Regions from separate parts of the Homo sapiens genome. Here region 2 is linked to region 1. The links are contacts of gene promoters, found by promoter capture Hi-C in blood cells and fetal thymus (Javierre and others, 2016). All regions are on one chromosome and are shown on one strand. Each heading gives the region's core, a stretch centred on a gene start or on the middle of the fragment in contact. The rest is flanking DNA. Distances are from core to core; before and after follow the strand shown.

Region 1 (6,670 bases), core at 1,622-4,121:
CATAGTGTTTGCATATAACCTATACGTATCTTCCCATATACTTTAAATCATTTCTAGATTACTCATAATACCTAATACAAAGTAAATGCTACACATAAACACTTTTTTTGTTTGTTTTTGAGATGAAGTCTCGCTCTGTTGCCCAGGCTGTAGTGCAGTGGCAAGATCTCGGCTCACTGCAACCTCCGCCTTCTGGGTTCAAGCAATTCTCCCTGCCTCAGCCTCCCAAGTAGCTGGGATTACAGGCACCTGCCACCTCGCCCAGCAAATGTTTGTATTTTTAGTAGAGACGGGGTTTCGCAATGTTGGCCAGGCTGGTCTTGAACTCCTGACCTCAGGTGATCTGTCTGCCTTGGCCTCCCAAAGTGCTGGGATTACAGGTGTGAGCGAACCACCATGCCCAGCTGCCCCCAAATATTTCCAATCCATGGTTGGATTGGATCAGCAATGTGAAACCCACAGGTATGAAGAGCAAACTTCTTTGGTAAGTGTAAATGAAATGTTTATAAAGCACTTAGCACAATACCCGGCTCATGGAAGTACTCAATAAATATTTGTTGAATGAATGACCTGGAGGGATGCAGAAGTGGAAAGCCTGGCCAGATGTCTATCTGTCCTACAAATACCAGCAAGGACACTCCTGCCAATGTGGTAACACTAAATAAGTGTCTGCTGTTATCATTCTTCCTGATTCATAAAGAGAGAAATACAAACTGTTATTAAAATCATGGCACTTAGGAGCTAGAAGTCGTTTTTGAAAACAAGCCCAACCAGAAATCAGCCCAACCGTGTAAACAGAAAGCTCCTAGACGCACAGATACAGATTTGGGTGAACAAAGTCTGAGGCTAGGGCCTCTCTCCATTAGCTAATGGGGTATGGGATGCCAGGAAAATTACATATGTAGTAAGTGGGCCGCAACTGAACACACAGACTTTTCTTTTTTTTTTTTTTTGAGATGGAGTTTCACTCTTGTTGCCCAGGCTGGAGTGCAATGGCACAATCTGGGCTCACCACAACCTCCGCCTCCTGGGTTCAAGCAATTCTCCTGCCTCAGCCTCCTGAGTGGCTGGGATTCCAGGCATGTGCCACCACGCCTGGCTAATTTTGTATTTTTTTAGTAGAGACCGGGTTTCTCCATGTTGGTCAGGCTGGTCTCAAACTCCCGACCTCAGGTGATGTGCTTGCCTCAGCCTCCCAAAGTGCTGGGATTGCAGGCGTGAGCCACCGCACCTGGCCCAGACTTTTCATCTCAAGAAATAGAAGTAAAGCAAAATTCAAAAAGATGTGTGTAGGGGAGAAGGGGCTAATCTCAGTGAACGGGAGGAAACAGAGCAAAGCGCAGCTTTACTACCACCCCAAGCACAAGCCCGAGTACTCTGATCCTTCAGTAATAGTCACAGGCCATACTGGTCATCTGCCACCAGACTGGAGGAGATTGCTGGCCACAACACTCCCCTCTTCCCATGGCTTTAAGTCACATCTGTTTCCCAATGGGAAAGTCGACTGAGGGGACAGGGAAGGACAGACGGCAAAGCCATCAGAAGTCAGGTGAACTGAGATCAAAGTCGTGGCGAATGTCATCTGGACAAAGACGCTGCTCTCAGGATGTTTGCAATCTCAAGTAGGAGATACCCAACATCAATAAAGAGTAGCATTTTATTCATGTGCAGACCTCCCTTCTGGGCTAACACGCTGAGAAGAAAAAGAGTAACAACTTTATTTTGGGGCTGCTTATCTTTTGATGACGGGCCCACACAACCAGAGTTCGGCTTTTTCAACCAGAGAAAGCTTACTGAAGTGGGGATGAGGGGCCGCGAAGAGGATCGGACCGCAGGACTGGAAGCTGCAGTTTAAAAAACCGGGAAAAGGCCGGAGGCAGTGGCTCATGCCTGTACTCCCTGCACTTTGGAAGGCCGAGGCGGGCGGATCAAGAGATCAAGACCATCCTGGCTAACATGGTGAAACCCCGTCACTACTAAAACTACAAAAATTAGCTGGGCGTGGTGGCGCGCGCCTGTAAGTCCCAGCTGCGCGGGAGGCTGAGGCAGGAGAATCGCTTGATGCCGGGAGGCGGAGGTTGCAGTGAACAGAGATCGCTCCACTGCACTCCAGCCTGGCGACAGAGCGAGACTCCTCAAAAACAAAACAAAAAAACCGGGAAAAGGTTTTATTTCTCAATGACAGCCGCGAGGTGAAACTGCGATGGACTGGAAGTCAAAAACCGTGGGTTCCAGTTTGGGCTCTATCTTAACTATCTTGATCATTTTGGACAAGTCAAACCCTGTCTCTGAATCTGAGGTTCCATATCTGTGAAACAGACGAGTTGGGTCGCTTGACCTCCTTCCCTCCTGCTCTGAGCGTAACGATTGCTCGGAAGGTGCGCTCGGGCTGAGGAGGGCACGGCCCCGCAGGGCGGGGCGAGGAGAGAGCAGGAACCCGCACTCAAGACAAGGCCCCAGGGCAGTGCCCTACCCAGAAAAAGGGACTAGGATGGGGAGCAAGGGCCGAGGCTTCGCCCTTACCTGCCGCCTGCCGACTCCCCAGTCAGCCAAACCGAGCCCCGTAGCCTCTGCCGCCGCTCACTGCCACCCCCTCCGACTCGGCGCCCCGGCCGGGCCCGGCTCAATCCAAACCACCATGGCCCGCCGCCCGCAGCGCCAGGCAGCGGACCCGGACCCGCCGCCAGCCCATCCTCAACCACACGCGCAGGCGCCAGCGTGGACCTCTGAAGTTCCGCCCCCGGATTTGTCCCGGGGTAACCTGGGAAATGGAGTTTACTCGCAAGGATAAAGAGTACCAATTGACACGTGTCTTACTGCGGAACTGTGCCTGGGTTTGGCCAATGAGAAATCGACTTCGTTTTCATCCTGGTTTTGGGACAGCGGCAATCATGGCGCCACCTGTGAGATACTGCATCCCCGGTAAGTGAGCGCTTCCCGTACAGAGTCCTGGATAGGGGCTGAAGCAAGAAGGCTAAACGGCCTACAGCTTCTGGGGGCCCGTGACCGATGCAGCATTTTTTCTGCAGGCGAACGTCTGTGTAACTTGGAGGAGGGCAGCCCGGGCAGCGGCACCTACACCCGCCACGGCTACATCTTTTCGTCGCTTGCCGGCTGTCTGATGAAGAGCAGCGAGAATGGCGCGGTAAAGGAAGCGGCATGCCATCTCCCCTCTGTTTTTCCCTTAGGCTGCCCTTGAGTTCCAGTCCTTAGGCATGGGCACTGCGGACGCGTCTTTAGTGCCTCAGTGGTACAATGTTGGTCTCTTAGTTTCTTCTAGCCGTATCGCCGCTGTGGTGCACTTAGCCACCACACACTAGTTGTGTTGATCTCGCTTGGTTGTGCTGCTGACCCTCGGGGAGGGAAGTTGGGACAAAAGCAGATGCGAACTCAGTATCCCATCCCAGCCCAGCTCAGCCCAGCAGTGAGTTGCATACTGTATGAATGTTGCTTACCTTTCCGACTTTATCTAGCGCCACTATCTCCACCTCACTGACGCAATCTAGTCATACTGTCTTTTCTGTGTTTAAAAGTTATAATCACAGTCTCTGCTTGCCCTTTAAAAATTTTTTATAACATACTAGCTTCTTTCAGTGTCGGTAATGCGCCAAGCTTTCTCCTGCTACAGAGCCTTTGTAACATGCCATCTATCTGGAACGCTTCTATCTTCCTAGGCCTATTTAATTCCTACCTCCTTTAGATAGCTTCTCTACTATCACCTCAGAGAAGTCCTTCTGGACCCACTAATTGAGGAAAGGAGTTTTGTGGGGTGTTTTGTTTTTGTTTGTTTTGTTAAAGACTCACAAAAAACTCTGTTCCTTTTCTTCCAAGCACTATGTCAGCATATGATGAGACACTCAGGTATATGTTTCCTACTAGACTTCTCCCCTGCTTAAATCTAAGTCCGTGAAAGCAGGCCCTACCACCATACCATCCGTATATAGCACAAGGCAGCTCCTCAATAAATGTTGAATGTGTGAGTAATACCTACCTTTCTAGTTTCAGAGATAGATCCAGGATTAGCTCAGGATCATATAAGCAATATTTGAAGGAGCACAATAGAAAGAGGATTCAGAATTAGAACAGTTACGTTCTGGCTAACTTGACTTTGATTCTGCTTTGAGTAAGTAACTTAAGCTGTCTGATTCAAGGGGCTTTCTATTCAGTCATTGTTGGGAATGTTCTTAACAGTCCTGAGTTTGTTCATTTCATAGATATCACTTGAGTATTTTCATGTGTCAGGCACAGCGCTGACTTGGTTTCTGCTATCAAAGGACACAGACACAAATTGTAAACAAATAAATGCTCAAATGAGCATATGGTTACATATGTGGTGGTGCTTTGAAAGAATATTACAGGGCACCTTGAGAACATGTAACAGGCAAACCCATCCTAGTCAGCAGAAGTGACATTTAAGCTGAATCATCTAAAGAGTAGGTAAGAGTCAGGTGGGTGGAGAGAGTGCAGCTCTGGCAGAAAGAATAGGTTGAAGAGAGATCTGAAAGTGGGAAGAATTTAGTAAGTTGGGGAAACTGAAAGAAGGCCAGGAGAGCTGAAGCATTGTGAGCAACGGAGAGATTGATAAAAGATGAGGCTCAAAATATCTGTCTTATACCAACAGCCAATACCATGCTCAAAGAGAAAACTCTGCAAGTATTCACTTAAAATAGAAGAAAACAAGCATAGCCGCTATTATGTAACATTTTTGTGGAAATTTCAGCCTGTGCAATAAAATAAGAAACAGAAGGAAGCAGTATAACTTTGGAGGAAAGAGTAAATTGTCGGCAGGGCGCAGTGGCTCACACCTGTAATCCCAGCACTTTGGGAAGCCAAGGCAGGTGGATCACCTGAGGTCAGGAGTTCGAGACCAGCCTGGCCAACATGGTGAAACCCCATCTCTACTAAAAATACAAAAAATTACCCGAGCATGGTGACAGGCTTCTGTAATCCCAGCTACTCGGGAGGCTGAGGCAGGAGAATCACTTGAACCCAGGAGGTGGAGGTTGCAGTGAACCAAGATGGCACCCTTGCACTCCATCCTAGGCAACAAGAGTGAAACTCCATTTCAAAAAAAAACAAAAAAAGTAAAATTGTCAATGATTATAGGCAATATAGTTGTATACCAAGAAATTCTGAGAGAATCACCAAAAAACTTATTAGAAGTTTAGAGATTTACTACAAAAAAAAGTAGCTGGGCATGGTGGCGGGTGCCTGTAGTCCCAGCTACTCGGGAGGCTGAGGCAGGAGAATGGCGTGAACCCGGGAAGTGGACCTTGCAGTGAGCCGAGATCGTGCCACTGCACTCCAGTCTAGGCGACAGAGCAAGACTCCGTCTCCAACAACAAAAAAAGAAGTTTAGAGATGTATGTCTTCTAGCAGCATTCTGTAGCCTCCTGGTCCTCCTATTTCCTAAAATTTCTAAGGCCTTCTGCTCTGGGCTATAAATGAATCCATACTCCAACTCTCACCTTTATACCAAGACATTCCTATATTACTCTCAAGCCACAAATGCCTTGACCCAAGGGTTAGTCAGGACATTTCAGTTTTTTGTTGTTCCCTCTGTAGCTTCCAGTGGTGTCTGTAGTGAGAGAAACAGAGTCCCAGTTACTGCCAGATGTGGGAGCTATTGTAACCTGTAAGGTAAGTTGGTCCTGACCTCCATGCTTAGAATGCCCATTCAATACTGAAATCATGACCATACCAGAACTGCAGTGTCCAGTATGATAGCCACAAGCTACATAAATTTATTTCTGGCAGGGCACAGTGGCTCACACTGGTAATTCTAGCACTTTAAGAGGCCGAGGCAGGAGGATTGCTTCAGCCCAGAGTTCAAGACCAGCCTGGGAAACATAGTGAAACCTCATCTCTACAAAAAGAATCAAAAATTGCCGGGCATGGTGGCTCATGCTTGTAATCCCAGCACTTTGGGAGGCCGAGGTGGGCAGATCACCTGTGGTCAGGAGTTCAAGACCAGCCTGGCCAATCATGGCCAACATGGTGAAACCCTGTCTCTACCAAAAATACAAAAATTAGCTTAGCGTGGTGGTGCATGCCTGTAATCCCAGCTACTCGGGAGGCTGAGGCAGGAGAAGTGCTTGAACCCAGGAGGTGGAGGTTGCAGTGAGCCTGCGTCACAGCAGTCCAGCCTGGGCAACAGAGTGAGACTCCGTCTCAAAAAAAAAGAAGAAGAAGAATAAAAAATTAGCCAGGCATGGTAGCACATGCTTGTGGTCCCAACTACTTGGGAGGCTGAAGCAGGAAGATCGCTTGGGCCCAGGGGGTTGAGGCTGCAGTGAGCCATGATCACTCCAGCTTGGGTAACAGGGCAAGACTCTGTCTCTCAAGAAAAAAATAAAATTGATTTCCTTAGTCACATTAGCCACATTTCAAGTACTCAATAGCCACTTGTGGCTAGTGGTTGCTATACTGGTCAGCACATGACTTTTCTGTCATCACAGAAAGTTTTACTGGACTGTGCAGGCTTACAGATTTCTAGGATAATAATCAAGGCAGCCAAGTTCAGGCATGCATAGTTCCTTCACTGAGCTGATTCCCTGAATACATAGTTCTACCTGTGTCTGGGAAACAGGGATGCCAGAGGATGATTAGGAGGCCTATTTTTGAACATCTGAAGCTGAGTTCTTTTTCTGCAGAGAAGCAAAAGACTTTA
Region 2 (6,670 bases), core at 1,732-4,231, 100 kb before region 1:
AACACGGGAAAACGTCCACCATACAGTGAAAAAAGGTCTCAAACAGCAAGCGCACAGTGCTCCAGCTTTTGATTCAAAAAAAGTATGTATTGGCCAGGTGTGGTGGTTCACCCCTGTAATCCCAGAACTTTGGGAGGCTGAGGCAGGCAGATCACTTGAGGTGAGGAGTTCAAGACCAGCTGGGACAACATGGTAAAAACCCATCTCTACAAAAATACAAAGATACAAAAATTAGCCAGGCTTGGTGGTGCGCGCCTGCAGTCCCAACTACTTGGGAGCTTGAGGCAGGAGAATTGCTTGAACTGAGGAGGCGGAGGTTGCAGTGAGCCAAGATTGCACCACTGCACTCCAGCCTGGGTCACAGAACGAGACTGTGTTTCAAAAAAAAAAAAAAAAAAAAGGGTGTATAATTATTATTTTTTGTTTGTTTTTAGACGGGGTCTGGCTCTATCACTCAGGCCATGTGATCATAGCTCACTGCAGCCTCAACCTCCTGGGCTCAAGCGATGCTCCCACCTCCGCCTCCTGAGGAGCTGTGATTATAGGCATGTACCACCATGACTGGATAATTTAAAAAAAATTTTTTTTTTTTTTAGAGATGGGGTCTCGCCATGTTGCCCAGGCTGGTCTCAAACTCCTCCTGTCTTCAAGTGATCCTCCTTCTTCTGCCTCCCAAAGTGCTCAGCTGTATAATTATATATATTAAAAAGACAGGAGGGCTGAGCACAGTGGCTCGCACCTATAACCCCCGCACTTTGGGAGACTGAGGCGGGAGGATAACTTGAGCCCAGAAGGTCAAGGCTGCAGTGATGAGCTATGATTACGCCACTATACTCCAGACTGGGCGACAGAGTAAGACCTGGTCTTTAAAAGAGAAAAAAGGCTGGAAGAATTTATATCAAAATGTAAACAGTGGTTATATTTCATTGGCAGTTACCGATGATTTCTTCTTGGTTTATATTTTCCAAGTTTTCTACAATAAGAATGTATTACTTTAATAATAAGAATAATACCATAAAAGTTGTTAATAAGGAAAGAGGATACTTGGAGTTCTGGGGTGCAGCCATGGAAAAGTGGGAAGAGTTTGGGGAGCCGACGGTGGTGCTGACTTGCTAAGCCCATACCCTGTAGGATATCAGTTACTGACAGCTCCTGGAGGCTTTGTCCAGGGCCAGGCAGGCTCTGCTGGTTTCAGCAGCAGGAGCATTTAGTAGCTTCTACTTACATCTCCTGTCCTAGATAAGCTTCAGGTCAAAGACAGAGTAACAGAAATGGTTCCTGTCCTTAATGAAGCTGACAAAGGCATACAACCTGCACGGGGAGGCAGCAGAGCAACACACCCACAAAAAGCATGCGTTTCCGCAATTGTGCTGGGCAGAGGACACCAAAAGACATTTTTTGTTTAAACTTTTTTTTTTTTTTTAATAGAGAGGTCTCCCTATGTTGCCCAGGCTGGTCTCGAACTCCTGGGCTCAAGGGATCCTCCTGTCTCGGCCTCCCGAAGTGCTAGGATTACAGGTGTGAGCCACCATGCCTGGCCAACATTTGTGATTGAGCAGAGAATGTATATGTCTGTGTATAGAGGCAAAGGCTAGGGTCCCAAAGAGTTGTCGAAACCTCCCGTATTAGGATCTCCTGGGGTGCTGGTTCAAAAGACAGATTCTCAGGGCCTACCTCACACCCATGGAACCAGTTACAGGGGCTGGGCTGGGGTATGTACTTGATCTGACTTAAGAACCTATTTGTAAACACAGCAAAACAGGAGTGGAAATGGCATGCCCAGCCACATCTTAACAAACAGTTCAACACATGGTCTCCAGAGGTGCTGCTGAGAGCTGATTTGGGAGGGAAGAGAGCAAGAGGGCACTACGTCTGGGCTGGAGGAGGATAATGATGGTGGATGCTGTGGTTTGGCCTCAATAATGAATGGTGTCTGGTGATATCACCCCAAGGGAGGGCACCGAAAGGAGAGTGGGAGACAGAGCATTTAAGGTCCTCTCCAAGTTGCCCAGAGCTGGTGTGCATCTATGAGTGTGAGTGTGTATGCGTGTGTGTGTGTTTACTCCCACCACTCAATTCACACTGCTGAACTCAGGATGGCTACACAGAAGAGGAGATTCCAAAAACACAAGGAAGGATGGCAGACCCTAGCTGAATAGATCCCACTGCCTCACACAGTGCCTGGCCCAGCGCGGTTCTCAGCAAGTACCTGCTGAATTGAGAAAGGAACTGACCGAGGCGCCGTGAGCAGGTGGGGAGGGGTGGAGGAGTTACAGCTCCTGCAGCAGCAGGGAGGCAGGCGGAGGCAGGGGAGAGGTCTGCAGCGGGCTGGCCCCTCCTTCAATTCTTGATCTCAGACCCCAGGAGATGGTTCTTGTGACTTCAGGGACTGGAATAAGTGAGCCACTGGGATGTGACACCAAATCTGAGACCAGCCAAAGGGAGCAGAGATTTCCCCAGTCAGGCCACCCAAGCCAGGAAACAGCCCTATTTATACCTGCGGCAATCCCCAAGCTGTTCCACACTCGGTTACCAAGTTCTGTCCCCAGGCCCTTACTCCAGGGATGGGGCCAACAGTGTCCTTCCCAGATGCACCGATTATGTGACAAGTCTGGGCTTGCTCTGGCTGGTGTGAGAGACACGGCTCTCACACCAGACGGGAGAAGGCAGGAACAAGAGCCTCCTTGTCCCAACAGCTGGCCGGCAAGGGCCCTCTGGCCAGGATACAGACTCGAATCTCTTGTTTCTCTCCTCCCACCCCAGCAGTCACAGCTGAAACACAGGTAGTCTGAAGTGTCCCACCTGGCAGCGGGAACAAGGGGTCAGGAAGAACACAGGGCCCAGAAGAAGGATCAGCCCAGGCGGGGAGGGGGGAGCCAGGGGGTGTGGTGCCCAGGTAATCCCTTCAGGAAGCGCGATATTTATAGTTAGACTTAGCAGAGATGACCCTCAGAGCCTAGGTAACTTTTGAAGGGAAAGTGCTGGCCCAGCTCTGGTCAGCTGGGGCCTCCCATGCTCTGGGATTTGGTGGCCTCTTTACAGGCCTGTGGGCCTTTCCTCCTCTCGGGCCCCAGCTCAGGGAGGGAAAGGGGTGGAGCCAGTTGCTAAGTGATGGGCCAGGCTTCTTACCGGGCATCTCTAGAGGTACAGTGGGTCCCAGGTGGTCCTGAGCAGAGCTGAAGGATCAAGGCAGGGTGGCACCCCTGAGAGCCCCCTTCTCGGCTCTAGGATGATGCCCAGCCCATGGCAACAGAAATTCTCTGCAATGATCTTGTTTGTCTGCCTGAGGCTGGGACATCCTCCAGTTCATCTTTTTGATCCTACAGACAGAGTTAATGCCTGGCATGCTGCACGGGCGAGTGAAATGGGCAGGCAGTTTAGGAAAAGAAGGAGGAGCTGGAGAGGGGAGGCACAGATCAGATGGGAGAGTAGACAGAGCTGTCTGCAAGAAACCCCTGCAAAGGGGGAACAGAGGACTATGTTTTGTGAACAAGCCTCACTGAATAGGAAGAGGCAGAAAGAAAGGGAGTGGGTGGAGGTGGGAGTCCAGGAGGGACAAAACCAGTCACTGAGGTAGGTGTACAGTGAGGAAACCTGCTGGAGGAGGCAGGCCCGGATCCTCTGTGGCCATGAGAGAGACAAAATTGCAGCCAAGAGAAACAGACCTACCCAAGGCCTCAGTGTGCGGGCAGCCACAGATACGGACAAGGGGGCACACATGCGTGAGACAGGGTGTGCTTTCATGGTGCTGCATACAACGTACACATTCACGGGGTCGGCTGCCTGGCTGGGCTCAGGGAGAGCAGGCCTTTTTCTGCTCTCTGGTCCGTGAGTCCAGCCTGGGGGCCCTGGCCACATCTGGCCGGGCTCGGGGAAGGGTGGTCTCCCAGAGCTGGGCACTGACCAGCCATCCCCCGACCCATTTCCAGAGGAAAACTGGCCTATCTGATATCAATTACAAACAGAGCCCCCAAATCTTCAGGATCTAACTCTAGGGTTTTCGTTTAGTCTTTTTTTGAGACGGAGTCTTGCTCTGTTGCCCAGACCAGAGTACAGTGACGCAATCTCAGCTCACTGCAACCTCCACCTCCTGGGTTCAAGTGATTTTCCTGCCCCAGCCTCCCAAGTAGCTGGGATTACAGGCGTGTGCCACCATGGCTAGTTTTTGTATTTTTAGTAGAGATGGGCCAGGCTGGTCTTGAACTCCTGGCCTCAAGTGATCCGCCTGCCTTGGCCTTTCAAAGTGCTGGGATTATAGGCGTGAGCCACTGCGCCCAGCCTGACTCTAGGGTTCTATCCTGCCATGCAACTAACATGTTTTCTGAGGCTGCTTTGGAGAGAATACTATACTTCACAAGCAGAGTAAGACATAGGTGGGAATTACCGCACTTCCCTTGTTTTAAGCACCTATGTCCCTTTCCTGCAGTCAACACACTCTCATCTTTGCCACGTACTGATGTGTTTGCTCTCAAGTGCAGCCAGAGTCCTGGCTTGAATACGAGCAGTTCCAGCGTTAGCAGCTCTGGAGGGAACCCTGATTACATGTGCTTTCTGGCAACCTGGATCATGGATAATTATGTATGTGTAAAAAGACACTGTAGCCTCTCTCTGCAATCTGGCTACTCACATGTGGGCTTCAGAGATGGACAGTGGGGGTTTTCTTTGGCTGCTAACCACCTTTGTGACCACGGGTGGATGACCTCACCAACCTAAGCTTTGGTGTTTCCATCTGTAAAAAGAGCATGTAACTCCCACCTCATGGGACTGCTGTAAGGATTAAGTGAGACCACTCTGCCCAGTGCTGAAAAGACAGTAGCTATTGTCATTGGTAACCAAGCCGAGTCAGTAATGCTTTAACCATTACACAATTAAAGGTTACTTTTTTTTTTTTTCATAAAGTTGCTGTGATTTTGAAAAATGAAAACTGCGAGGCTGGGCGTGATGGCTCATGCCTGTGATCCCAGCACTTGGGAGGCCAAGGCAGGTGGATCAACTGAGGTCAGGAGTTCAAAACCAGCCTGGCCAACATGGTGAAACCCCATCTCCACTAAAAACACAAAAATTAGCCAGGCGTGGTGGCATATGCCTGTAGTCCCAGTTACTCAGGAGGCTGAGGCAAGAGAATCGCTTGAACCCAGGAGGTGGAGGTTGCAGTGAGCCAAGATCACGCCACTGCACTCCAGCCTGGGCAACAGAGCAAGACTCTGTTTCAAAAAAAAAGAAAAGAAAAGAAAACTCCTGCCATAGGGATGTCTTGGTCTTTATTTCGCGGTGCAGCAGAACGCAGGGGTTAAATGAGGTCAAGCTCAACAGGGACAGAGAGTGGGCTTGATGGATGTCTGCCTCCTTGTGCTGGTTGCACAGCGTAGGGTCAGCACTTTTCCTGGGGCAGAAGAGGGAGGATGGTGGCTAATAAATAAAACAGGAACTCCCCAGAGGTTGCTAGAAAGGTCTCCTGTATCTGGCTGGCTCCCTTTGCTACCTCAGGACTCCAGGAAGGGGAGGTAGGTTTTCTCAGCCACTGTGCTTTTTACTGCTGGACATAGCAGTCCAACCTCCCTCACTGCTGGTAAAGATGAGGACCCAACGGGCACCGGCACGGCAGCCAGGTGCCTAGAAGCGAACGGCACAGCCTGACTTCTGACACTGGGACTCTGTCCCACTGGGTGTCAACTGCCACGAGCGCTCAGACATGCACCACTCCAAGGGGGCATGTCCCCCGAGTATGGCAGAGTCCTGAAGCTGGGAGCGACCTTAAAGTCTTCTGCCCTAGCCACTTTATTTTACAGACAAGGAAACCAAGGCTGAAAGGTGATGTGACTTGTCCCAGACCCGACAGCTGTTTCCCGAGAGAGAGACGGAGACAGAGACAGACAGAGAGAGAGAGAGAGAGTGTGTGTGTGAGGTGGCAGTGGGGCACAGTAAATTCTTTCTGCCAAACTACTCCACCACCAGTGGAAGCTGAATTATAACTAGAATATGAAAATATCAGGAGCTGAATGCACAGCTCTGAAGAATATGCCAATGGGAAAAGCAGCAAGGAAAACACGCGGCAGGAGCAAGGCGGGAGGAGCTACCAACCTCCCATTGCCCACTAGAGAGGAACAGAATCTAAGAGCTGAGCCCTCCCAGGACAGCTGGGCCAGTGCTATCCACACCTGACTGCGTGCCCTGGTCTTCTGTCAGCTTTTTTTTTTTTTTTTTCTGAGACAGGGTCACACTCGGTCACCCAGGCTGGAGCGCAGTGGGTGATCAGGCTCACTGCAGCCTCCATCTCCTGGACTCAAATAATCCTCCCACCTCAGCTTCCCCAGTAGCTGGGACTACAGGTGTGCACCACGACATTCGGCTAATTTTTTTGATTTTCAGTAGAGATGAGGTTGCACTATGTTGGCCAGGCTGGTCTCGAACTCCTGAGCTCAAGTGATCCGCCCACTTCAGCCTCCCAAAGTGCTGGGACTACAGGTGTGAGCCACCATGCCTGGCCCTCCTGTGGCCTGACAGAAACACACACCTAGGCACCAGCTCAAGACTCTAATTCAGCATGGCTGGCTTGGAGCTCAGTGATGGAGACTCACCAACTACCCCACAGTCACCCCAGCTGGGGGGCAATTCAGCCTCTGTGCACCTCCTGAACTGAGGTGTTCACCATGCCACAAAGAAGCCTATT

The links. Contacts are between HindIII fragments. The CHiCAGO score rates a contact against its expected background, and 5 or more counts as called.
Region 2: a contact is called between a fragment that was not itself captured here and the fragment with the promoter of EXOSC1 in region 1, in 2 of 17 cell types (M0 macrophages and M1 macrophages). The highest score is 5.3, in M0 macrophages.

The regions. Positions count from the first base shown.
Region 1 is chr10:97,442,207-97,448,876 of GRCh38, reverse strand. It overlaps EXOSC1 (exosome component 1), which reads left to right and starts at 2,871. Exons shown (of 8, transcript NM_016046.5): 1 at 2,871-2,922; 2 at 3,030-3,145; 3 at 5,566-5,640. The coding sequence starts at 2,892. ZDHHC16 (zDHHC palmitoyltransferase 16) reads right to left here and starts at 2,702. Exons shown (of 12, transcript NM_198046.3): 1 at 2,524-2,702. RefSeq lists a silencer at 2,441-2,650 and enhancers at 2,582-3,161, 3,162-3,742. The HindIII fragment of the contact is 1,823 bases long and covers 1,792-3,614 here.
Region 2 is chr10:97,546,124-97,552,793 of GRCh38, reverse strand. The region is part of intron 1 of UBTD1 (ubiquitin domain containing 1); the gene reads right to left. The region is part of intron 2 of LOC124902488 (a long non-coding RNA gene); the gene reads left to right. Among named protein-coding and RNA genes, the nearest start is that of ANKRD2, 23 kb to the left of the region's middle. RefSeq lists an enhancer at 912-1,412. The HindIII fragment of the contact is 3,470 bases long and covers 1,247-4,716 here.